Regions from separate parts of the Homo sapiens genome. Here regions 2, 3 and 4 are each linked to region 1. The links are contacts of gene promoters, found by promoter capture Hi-C in blood cells and fetal thymus (Javierre and others, 2016). All regions are on one chromosome and are shown on one strand. Each heading gives the region's core, a stretch centred on a gene start or on the middle of the fragment in contact. The rest is flanking DNA. Distances are from core to core; before and after follow the strand shown.

What was found. Contacts are between HindIII fragments. The CHiCAGO score rates a contact against its expected background, and 5 or more counts as called.
Region 2: the fragment with the promoter of NCKAP1 here is called in contact with the fragment with the promoter of ITPRID2 in region 1 in 7 of 17 cell types (non-activated CD4 T cells, activated CD4 T cells, naive CD8 T cells and 4 more); the score reaches 15.5 in non-activated CD4 T cells.
Region 3: a contact is called between a fragment that was not itself captured here and the fragment with the promoter of ITPRID2 in region 1, in 1 of 17 cell types (total CD8 T cells). The highest score is 5.3, in total CD8 T cells.
Region 4: a fragment that was not itself captured here is called in contact with the fragment with the promoter of ITPRID2 in region 1 in 2 of 17 cell types (total B cells and naive CD4 T cells); the score reaches 6.2 in total B cells.

What each region holds. Positions count from the first base shown.
Region 1 is chr2:181,890,283-181,892,982 of GRCh38, forward strand. It overlaps ITPRID2 (ITPR interacting domain containing 2), which reads left to right and starts at 1,448. Exons shown (of 18, transcript NM_001130445.3): 1 at 1,448-1,995; 2 at 2,333-2,378. The coding sequence starts at 1,785. RefSeq lists silencers at 1,325-1,654, 1,945-2,084. The HindIII fragment of the contact is 2,528 bases long and covers 1,068-2,700 here.
Region 2 is chr2:183,037,081-183,039,780 of GRCh38, forward strand. It overlaps NCKAP1 (NCK associated protein 1), which reads right to left and starts at 1,377. Exons shown (of 31, transcript NM_013436.5): 1 at 912-1,377. The coding sequence starts at 1,019. RefSeq lists silencers at 797-916, 977-1,566, 1,299-1,950. The HindIII fragment of the contact is 8,317 bases long and covers 1-2,700 here.
Region 3 is chr2:183,121,629-183,124,328 of GRCh38, forward strand. It overlaps LOC124907917 (a long non-coding RNA gene), which reads right to left. Exons shown (of 2, transcript XR_007087331.1): 2 at 2,289-2,700. It also overlaps a transcript of NUP35 not described here. Among named protein-coding and RNA genes, the nearest start is that of NUP35, 1.5 kb to the right of the region's middle. The HindIII fragment of the contact is 256 bases long and covers 1,240-1,495 here.
Region 4 is chr2:180,112,113-180,114,812 of GRCh38, forward strand. No RefSeq gene overlaps it. Among named protein-coding and RNA genes, the nearest start is that of EPCART, 12 kb to the right of the region's middle. The HindIII fragment of the contact is 1,935 bases long and covers 377-2,311 here.

The sequences.
Region 1 (2,700 bases), core at 198-2,697:
TATTCATTCTCTTTTTCATCTTCCACACAGGCAGCGAGACTCTGACCTATTTTGGAGAGCCATTAAACTGTTAGCTGCATCCTACTACAGGACCCTTGAAGGCTGAGAAAGTCTTATAGGTTCAAAGAAAAGATTTTCTAGTAGTGAAATTTCAAGCCATAGAGATATTAATATCACTGTTCTAACTCCCCTGACATTTGGCAGTACATAGATGAGACTCAGGAGAATATTATGATGGTTCTGGAAAGCTAGTCTGGATTTTGGATTTGATCTTGGGGATATTAGTAAACCATTAGAAGATGTCTTGGAATTGTAAATCTAGAGCAATGCGCTAGAAAGGAGATAGGAAAGAATGAAGGCAGGAAAATCAGTGTGCTATTTTAGTAGTCTATGACTTATGTGTAAATGCCTGGACAAAAACTAGGCACTATTTCATCTCCAGAGCATTCTTCATTCCAAATTCTCCAAAAGTTATGGTTTCCTGTAGCTATCAATGACAATGCACTTAATTACCTTGTAATTCGAATGCTTCCATTAGGAATTTTACTATGCTCTGGATTTTAATTTCAAATGAAAAATAATTCCTTCCTTAAAATATTTTGTCTACGCAAAATATTCTTTTCAATCACGTTAAGATTTTAAAAAGTGTTCTAACTTGTTCTTCAGAGCATAGCCAAGTACAATAAAATATTGGAAGCCTTACTTATATGTATAGTTCAGATGTAACATTTAGGGGAACAATGCTGCTTGATAGGTCTGTCACATTGTGTCTGGTTTTGGATAGAATTTGAGTATTTTTGCTAATGAGAATTTAAACATAACAAAACGGAATGCCAAAGCTGGCTTTAAAAAGTTTTGAACCCTGACATCATTTGTTTCTTGTATCATGCTGTCTCACCAAAATCCAAGCAACTATCTCCACATTGTCCCAATTGTTTCCTCTATTCTCCCTCACCAAAGTCCAACTTCAATGTGAAATTTCCAGATTAAATATCCTTTCACAATTCATTTTCATTCATAACATAAACACGATAAATAACTTTAAGTATGAAAGTAGCACTCCAGGAAGCTTAGTCTTTTGCAGTTTTTACATTTTGGCAACACCAATCAAGCACCTCTTTCCGTCCTTACCCCAATTCCTTGGACACTAAAGAGTCTATATTCAGGCGACTCTTTCAAGTGTATGTTTCAGGGTGCCCAAGCAGACACTTGTTTTCTCGCGGGGGATGTTTTGTGAGACTTGGCCTCCCCACTTACGTTCTATTTTTAGGTGAGGGAGGAGGAGGAGGAGAGGAGGAAAGATTATTAACAAACTAATCTTGCCCATTCCGCGGGCAGTAGTCGGGGGCTGGCCTGCTCCGCGTCGCGCCGGGCGCGCCCCGCCCTACCGCGCCCCGCGCGGCCCCGGCCGGAAGGGGGCGTGGGCCGCCGCCGAGGGAAGGCGCGCAGACGCGCAGCGGCCGGCCTGCTCCGGGCGCGTCAGGCAGGGGGTGGGGAGCAGGGGCCGGGCGGGCGCTCGGCTCCCAGCCGCGCTCCCTCGGGCCACTAGCGCTCCCGCGCGCGCCCGGCCGCCTTCATGTGAAGCGCCGGCCCTCCGCCCCTTCCCTCCCCTTCCTTCCCTCCCTCCCTCCCTGTCCCCTCCTCCTCCTCCTCCTCCTCCGGCGCCCGCTTCAGCTCCCCGGGGCCCCCTGCCCGGCCGGGCGCTGACAGCAAGGGCGGGGGTCCCTGCCGCCGCCTTGTCTCGCGCAGGGTCCGGCTGGGGTAGCGGAGCCCCCAGTGCGGCCATGGACCGGCCCCTGTCGTCGTCGGCGGAGGCGGAGGAGGAACTGGAGTGGCAAGTGGCGAGTCGCAGGAGGAAGGCCTGGGCCAAGTGCCGCAGCTCCTGGCAAGCGTCGGAGACGGAGGATCTGTCCACAGAAGCGACGACGCAGGACGAGGAGGAGGACGAGGAGGAGGACCTCCCCGGCGCGCAGCTGCCGGCAGCGGGGGGAAGAGGTCGGTGCTCCCGGCCGGGCTCCGGGGGGAGGCTGGTGGGCTGGGGAGAGTCTCGTGCGCCCTGGGCGCCTGCCACGAGTTCTGGGAGAGCCTCGGGCACGGTAGGCCGAGGGGAGAGGGGACACTTCCGACCTTCAAACGCGCGCGCTGAACGAGGCGCCCCCAGCGTCAACACAGACAACTGGGTGCCATCCGATTTCCCTGCCAAGGGACACTGAGACGTGTCGCTTAGGCTGCATTTGCCGTGGTAGATTTTCCTACTTGGGAGGGTCCAGGGTGACTCCGCCGTCGTAGTGCTCCTGGGTGGTAACGTGCTGTCCCCTCTCTCTACCCCCAGGAAACGTGCCCAACGAGAAGATCGCGATATGGCTCAAGGACTGCCGGTGAGTGCTCCCTGGTCCGCCCGCGTCCCGGGGGAGATCCGTGCGGACGGGACGCCGGAGCAGAGCCACTCGGGCCGCGTCCCTGTGGGTCCCGCGACCGTTGTAAGCTACAAACCGGAAAGTGAGCCGGCGGATAGCTTCCTCCTCTAAGCGATTAGAAATGGAAGTGCTGTGACCGCTGATTATTTGGTGACCGTGTTGACTTTACAGTTAGGACTTGAGCTACTCACGCATCGTGTTAGCATCAGAGATCAGAAATCCAGAACAGATAATCATGCCATATTTGTTCTGTTTTTATTTGAAAGAATTCTCACATCTCGAA
Region 2 (2,700 bases), core at 127-2,626, 1.1 Mb after region 1:
TGTTCTATCTTTACATGGACTTTTCTAAACTTCCAGTGGTCTTCCACTCCTTACTGTACTGAGGACATGTAAAAGCCTTTAAATGGGCCTATTAGCTATAGTTGCTCAAATTATCAGACTATGCTATAAATCAGCAGCAATTGCAACATTTTTACGGTTTTTATTTTGTACAGACACCGAACTTTAAGAAATGGTATTGGAAAATCTAACATGAGGAGGAGTACAGGGGAAAGAGTAGAAGGTTGTTATTCCAGTTCTAGTGACTCACAGCCTAGAAGTATTTCAGAAAATTGGTTCCACCCTCACTTCCCCCTCCTCTCCACCTTCAAAATGAAATAATCCCAAATCGTCAACACACTCTCAATGGCTTTTTATTTAGCAATCTAAAATAAAGTGGCAAAGTGGAGGGGATACGGGATTCATCCAATCAGCCCTTCTCTACCCACATTCCCACACCAAAAAATGGGGATGTGGGGTGTAATCCCTGTTCACTGCTGCCATCTCCGTAAGAATATGGAACACTCAAGTTTTCCTACCCACCTAGAATTTCGCCCACCCACCACCCTCCCTTTCCTATGGGCCCCATCATGGGGGCGGGGGCGCCGAGGAGGGGACAGCTCCCGGCTCCCAGCGGCGCCCCCACCCCGTGCGAGGCCCAGCGCCCGATCCCGCCGCCGGGAGCCGGGAAATGGCTTCTCTGCCTTCGGCCGGCCGGCGAACCACAGGGAGAGGCGCCCGGGACTCCGCATTAGGCCGCGGCGCATCCAGGCGACCCCGGGCCGGGCCTCGGGCGGCGACGCCGAGATTTCTACACCCGGCGCCTCCTGCCGCCCCCACCCCACGGCCTCCCTTGCCCTTCATCCCTCCCGGGCCCGCCCGCCTCCGCCGCGGCCTCCCCGGCCCGTGCGCACCTTCTTGATGTTGTAGAGGCGGGTGAGCATGCCGACGCCCCGGTCGTTGAGGATGGTGAGCTTCTCCGCCAGCTTCTGCTGACTGGGCTGCAGCACTGAGCGCGACATGGTGGTGCTGGTGCCGCCGCCGCCGCCGGCCGCCTCGCGCCCAGTCACGGGCCCGCGGCCTTCGCAGCAGCCTCTCTCGGGCCTCCTCCCCTCCCGCCCGCGACCTCCGCCTTAGGAGAGCGCGCCCATGGCCCTCGCGCCCCAATCCCGCGCCGGCGACAGAGCGAGCCGCGGCGGACTCCTCGGAGCCCCTTCTCCCGCAGCAGCCCGCGCCCCGGCAGCCTCCTGCCTTCCGCCCGCCGCCCTTCCGCCCCCACCCCCGGCGCTCTCCGCCCCAGCCCCCAACGAGCCGCCTTCCCCGGCTGCTCCACTAGGTGTGGCGGCGGCGGCGGCGGCGGCGGCGTCTCCGGCGGCTGAGAACGAGGCCGCTTCCCGCAGCCCCGGACGGGCCCTCGGTCACCTGATCGGCAGCGCCGGCGCCCCCGCGAGGCCGGACGGGGAACTGCGGCCGACGGGCCCTCGGCATGGCCTCGCCGCCGCCGCTCTGGCCCTGGCCCTGGCCCGGACCGCCCACTACGCCTGATGCCGGGATGGGAGTCCCAAGCGGGGACTGAGTGGGGTCGCGTTGTGTGCTCTTTCCACTTCGCCCCACACCCCACTCCTTCAAGTTCCCAAAAGTTGCTTTTCCGCACCACCCTTCTAAAGAAACCGGCAGAAACTCTGCTGGGAGGCGGGGTGTTTTCCAGGCGAGTTTCGCTTAAGAGTGGGCTGGTGGCTCCAAGCGCTTTTTCCTCCCACTGCTTGACAGGCGCTCGCCGCAGAACACAGCAGATGTTGTGCTCCGCGAGGTGGGGATCGCCTCTGCCAGCCTCCCCAGCCCATCCTCAGTCTCCCCGCCTGGAACCAGTTTGTGAGAGAGGAGGTCGGAAGTGAGGGTAACTCAAGTCCTTGAGATAATCACAATCTAGACTTTGTCGGCGAGGAGCACCCATCCGGAGGAGACGCAGTAGGTCCTGGCATGTGGAAGGCAAAAAATAAATGTTTGTTCAATGCCTAAAGGAACCGCTCCCATTTTTTTACAGCCTCCACCCTAAATCCCACTTCTTCTTGGAAACATTCTTCTTTGCCATCTCATTTTTCCTGATCAATTTCTTCTTAGCGACACTCCAAGGCTACTCCCTTGTCAAATGTATTAGACATGATTCCAAAAGTGAACTAACTGAGGACTTACGTAATTGAGGTGAGAAACTTCAGCCAAGAGGACTCAGGCCTCTAATATTTTTGGCTTTGCCTTTTCTCGATATGTTAATTTTTTATATTATATTCATTAATTTTAAGTCAGTAACAAAATGTCCCGCCACATTCAATAAGACATTCTAAGAGTAATAAGCCATCACTGGATTTATCAAAACTCTTTAAGAAAAGGAAATTGTAATGAATAGCTTTAAAATATTTTTTAAAGCTACTATATCTACTATTCGTAAAGAAATCTTCATTTTAATATTCCAACAAGAAAGAAGGAGTGGACTGAATGGATTTAATCTAAGGGGCATTTAAAAGAGTCCTGTTCCCACCAAAAGAAGTCATAATCATACCTGCCAGTGTGCCTGAAATTCTATATACAAAGCTGCAGTACCTTGAATGAATGCTTTGTACCTAGAGAGTCTTAAGAATACAAACACTTCAGAGAGATCATCTGTCGAGCTATTACTAGTCATTAACTGGTCAAGGAATTTAATTT
Region 3 (2,700 bases), core at 118-2,617, 1.2 Mb after region 1:
CGAGACCATCCTGGCCAACATGGTAAAACCCTGTCTGTACTAAAATTCAAAAAAAAAAATGAGTTGGGTGTGGTGGCATGCGCCTGTACTCCCAGCTACTCGGGAGACTGAGGCAGGGGAATCAGTGGAGGTTGCAGTGGAGTGCCAGAGCTGAGATCGTGTCACTGCACTCCAGCCTGGTGACAGAGCGAGACTACATCTCAAAATAAATAAATAAATAAATAAAATAGCAATAACACCTGTCATCAACCACAAAATTGTATAAAATAAGTTAAAGGCCATTCTTTTTATTATTATTATTATTATACTTTAAGTTCTAGGGTACATGTGCACAACGTGCAGGTTTGTTACATATGTATACATGTGTAAAGGCCATTCTTAAATCCTCCAATTTACAAACCCTTTTCTACTTTACTGTTAATAGTTTGGTGCAAATCTTTTTCTTTTTCTTTTCTTTTTTTTTTTTGGACACAGAGTCTCGCTCTGTCGCCAGGCTGGAGTGCAGTGGCATGGTCTTGGCTCACTGCAACCTCCACCTCCTGGGTTCAAGCGATTCTCCTGCCTCAGCCTCCCAAGTAGCTGGGATTACAGGCATGTGCCACCATGCCCGGATAATTTTTGTATTTTTTAGTAGAGATGGGGTTTCACCATGTTGGCCAGGCTGGTCTGGAACTCCTGACCTCGTGATCCGCCCGCCTTGGCCTCCCAAAGTGCTGGGATTACAGGCATGAGCCACCATGCCCGGCTGGTGCAAATCTTTTTCAACATCTTCTTTTATTTAAAGAAGTATCACTCTTTTCTCTTTCTCTGCATCTGTTCCTAAATAAACCCGTTATTAAATAAAAATGGTGCCGTATATGCATGCATGTTTTCAAATTACTTTTTTTCATTATATCTATCACAGAGGTCTTTCTAGGTTAATATTTACACTCATATCAAATCCATCTAATTCATTTTAGTTGTTGTATAGTGTTCTTTTGTTTGGCTAGATCATAATTTGTATAGAAATTTCTTTTTTATTTTGTAGAGAAGTGGGGTCTCACTATCTCAAACTCCTGGACTCAAGTGATCAACCCCTCAGCCTCCCAAGGTGCTGGGATTGCAGGTGTGAGCCACCACATCTAGCCTCAATGTGTGTAGAAATTTATACATTGATATACCTTTCTTGGTAGCTTAATTCTAAAAAGTGGATTGCCCTGTGTTGTGGGCTGACTACTCCCCAAAGATATCCATACACTAAGCTTTAGAATCTGTGAATGTTACCTTATATGGCAAAAGGTATTTTGAAGATGTGATTATTAACTTAATCACCTCTACTGAATATTGAAATAGTAAGATTATCCTGGATTACCTGGGTGGGTCCTAAATGTCATCACAAGGCTATGTGATGGCAGAAGCTGAACAAAGCAGTGTCAGACAGACCAAAGATGCTACATCGTTGGCTTTGAAAAAGCAGGAAGGTGGCACAAGCTAAGAAATATAAGTGGCTTCTAGAAGCTTGAAAAAGCAAGGTAATAGATTCTCCCCTGGAGCCTCCAGAAGAAAATAGTCCTTCTGGTACTTTGATTTTAGCCCTACAATACTCATTTTGGATTTTTGGCCTCCAGAACTGTAAGAGATACATTTGTGCTGGTTTAGTTAACCGAGCTTGTGGTACTCCAATGTGACTTTATCTGAACTTTATTACATCTGCAAAGACCCGATTTCCAAATAAGGTCATATTCATAAGTATGAGGGTTAGGACTTGAACATAAATTTTTGAGGGACACAATTCAATTCACACACCCATTTTCAAAAAGTCAATTCGATCTGTGAGTGGTTTTAAAATTTGATTTCTGTGAACCTACCATTTAATTCTGGAATTGTTACTGCCTCATTCCAAAGACAAAATTCTTCCTCCATTTGAGATTTTAGGAAGTCCTAGAAGAAATAGCTGAGCATGGGTGGATATTTTGGAAATAATCCTCATGGTATGGAGCAGAGAACGTCCCCAGTTATACATATGTAGCACATTATTTTATAAAGTTAGTATTTGAGCAAAACTAAACAATATATTTTTACACACACATATGCAGAATATGTGTATGTGATTTACGTATGACTATGCCCTAAAGAAAAGCAGCAAAGTGAGGGGACGTGGACGGCAGGGATGGCACATGCAGAAGCACGCAAGATTCCGCGGTGTGGAGGGTTCGTGGGTGCGTATAATTATCTTCCATTATTTACATGTGTACTTTATGCGTTCGTTAGCTATATTTTTGTATGTTTTAATATGCAACAAAACGGCGTATGAGTTACGCTTTAATGTAAAATTGTCTACATAACACAAAATTTAAAAGAAATGGCATACGGATAGTAGAAAACATGCTTTGAGGAAAAAGCGTCATGTACTAAGTCCAGAAATCGACATTGCAAAGAGGCACCAACTGTTTTCATCAAGCTGACTTTTCCAGGTGCTACTCAGAAAAGCTGACCGATGATAGAGCACTGGGTCAACTCACGCTAATTATGAAACCGTGAGTAAAATAATCTGTGCTTCTATGTAACTTAAGTACCCACAAATCAGGAAGCATTCCCGGATGAAAAGCATTCACAGAACCATACGCTGGTTCGCCACCTTCCCGGTGCAAAAACCCTTTCCTCGGAAATTCTCAGCGCAAAGACTTTGCCCTATTCCAAAATGGCTCCGGCGCCTACAAC
Region 4 (2,700 bases), core at 94-2,593, 1.8 Mb before region 1:
GTATTTTGTGATGTGATATGGAACTTCGGTAAATATGGAATGAATCCTATTCTCCCATAAAAAAGAAAGGCAGGGTAATTTAGCTTGCAATTTACTTAATAAATATAAGAGCATATAAGTAACATTTTTGTTCTTGTTTGCTTAAAAATGCTATGACATATCTCTTAAACATCCTGGGTTTGGTTTATATTTGCAAAAATAGGAAATAAGCCGTGATATTTTGCTTTTATTTATGATGATGACCTTTTTGTAAAGTATCTCAGTCAGCTCCTGAAGGAGATGAGGGCCCTGTGGTTGATACAGAGACTTCTATTTAATGCGTGGTTTCAAATTTAGAACTTCTCTTCAGAAACTATAAATTATTTATGCAGTATCAAGCTTTTAAAACCCTGTTTATGACAAGTTGGGATTTTGCCAATCTCAGTTGAAACAGCCTAAATTATTTATCTTGTATTGCTTCAATGTACCGTATATTCTGAGGCCCAAGAAATATTAAATACATTTCATTTTCTTCTCTGCTATGCTGAGGTAGGGGAGGTTAAGCCCTTAGACATTCTTAGAACAATTCTTGGTCTCTGTCTTCTCTCTGTGTGCTAGGTTTCTTTTTTTACTTTCATATTATGCCTTTTCTTTCATATGAAATTTTCACTTTGTTGAACTTTTTTTTCAAGACCCTTTATCTCCCATCAGTTATCTTTACTGAATTTCCATACATTGTAACTTCAGTTATAAATGAAAGAATATCTTTGCAAGTAAAGAATTCAGTTGTTTTTAGGTCTCAATATCTTGCAGGAGCATGAACAATGAATTACTCTCATTTGATTTTGCTGAAATGTGTGAATCATTAATGATAAACAACAAAAGAGTTCAAGATTTAATTAAATAGCTAAATTTTGGGAGTTATTTTAATTTAGTTTTAATATATGAACTATGAGATAATGCAGATATAGGGTAGCTTTATTCCATGAATCTTAATCACCTAAAACTACCAGATTCTAGGAAGTTTGGCATTTCTACTAATTTTGAAAACAGGTGTGAGAAAAAGGACATGTAAACAGTATTTAATTATTATAGCCAGCTTGCAAATTTTAATAGCCCCATTTCCTTAAACTGCAGAATGGCAAGAATGAACAGTAAACATGCAAATAGCAAATTCTTATATTCAATAGACTGTATGTATCATGTTACTAGTAACATTATTTATTCAGCTAGTTTAGATAGTTATTCCCATTTTGAACTTGGAATCTACTCATCAATTGCTCTCAGCAAATGTGATTGGGTGGAGGTCTATTGGGATATGTGAATTAGGCATAGCCAATCAGATCCCCACTTTTCCCTGTTGTCAATGATTAGTTCATGGACACTCAGGTGATGCCATCAGAGCCAAAGAAATATCATGAGACTTTTTGGAGACTTCCGAGATAGAGGGAGGTTCTAGAGGGAAATTTTGGGAAGCTGAGATTATGTATTTCTGGAGTTGCTCAAGTTCTCTAAGGAAGGAGCCTGTCTGTAAATAGAACAGGCAATAGATTTTCTTTCACTTGCAAGAAAAAATTTCTAATTGATAAAAATCATACACATAAAACAATAAGCCATATATTTATTGCAGTATGCATGCAGGACTCACTAACAAGCACTCTTATTTATGGATCATTGATTAATAAACATGACAATTATGTCCACTGTAAACCTAGAGCAATTCCAATTACACACATCTGTTCATTAAATGCAGACAGTAGTTTATACCATGTTTGTATCATATTAAATACTAACATTTAAAATATTTTTTCTTTAGAAATTTTGTGTGTCTGGAGTTTTAACTTTTCATTATAATTGTCTTTATTAGCTCCTAATCTCATATTTATGAAGGATTGGGATTAGTTGGAATATTGATGAAAAACTGTACATGCAACACAGAGAAAATGATCATAAACACAAAATACTGTGTCAGGAAGCCTATGGATTTTCTGAAGCCCATACATGGATAAGGGCCCTTGGTCTATCAGAAAATGAACCCTTGAAATTTTTGATTTCTGAGATTTTCTTGAAGTTTTCTTTATTATCTACTATGTGATAGATTTTTAGACATTCTAGGGATGCTTGAGAATAATGCGTATTCACTCTTTATAGAATATTGAATCTAAATAAATCAATCTTAATTCAAATTTAATTTGTAAATATTTGTCATTTTTCTCTTGAACTCATAATGTTTACATATTTTTATGATACTAAGTAATGATTTATAATTGTTATGTATTATTGACTTAACCCCTTATCTATTTAAAAATAAATAGACCATTAATACCTTTGAAGCTTTTGAGTCTTTAATTTTATAATAATGTAATCACTGCCTTTCTTTTTTTTTGCTTCTATTTGCTAATACTTATCTGCCCACACTTTTATTGACATTTCTCTATCATATCATTTTAGAAATGTTGTTAACCACATATAGCTGAAATTTATTTTGAACTGAATGACAGTATTTTCCTTTTACCTGAGGAACAGGATTTAGCCTATTTATTACTTTCTGAAATAAGTGATACACTTGATCCTCTGTTTTTATGTTTCTGTTAGCTGTGTTTTATCTCTTTATAAGGACTATAATTTTATTTTTCTTAAATCTACTGCAGTAGGTATACTCTTTTTTAAAACTTCATGGGTTGTTAGCTATTTCTATATAATAAACTACATTAAAATAGA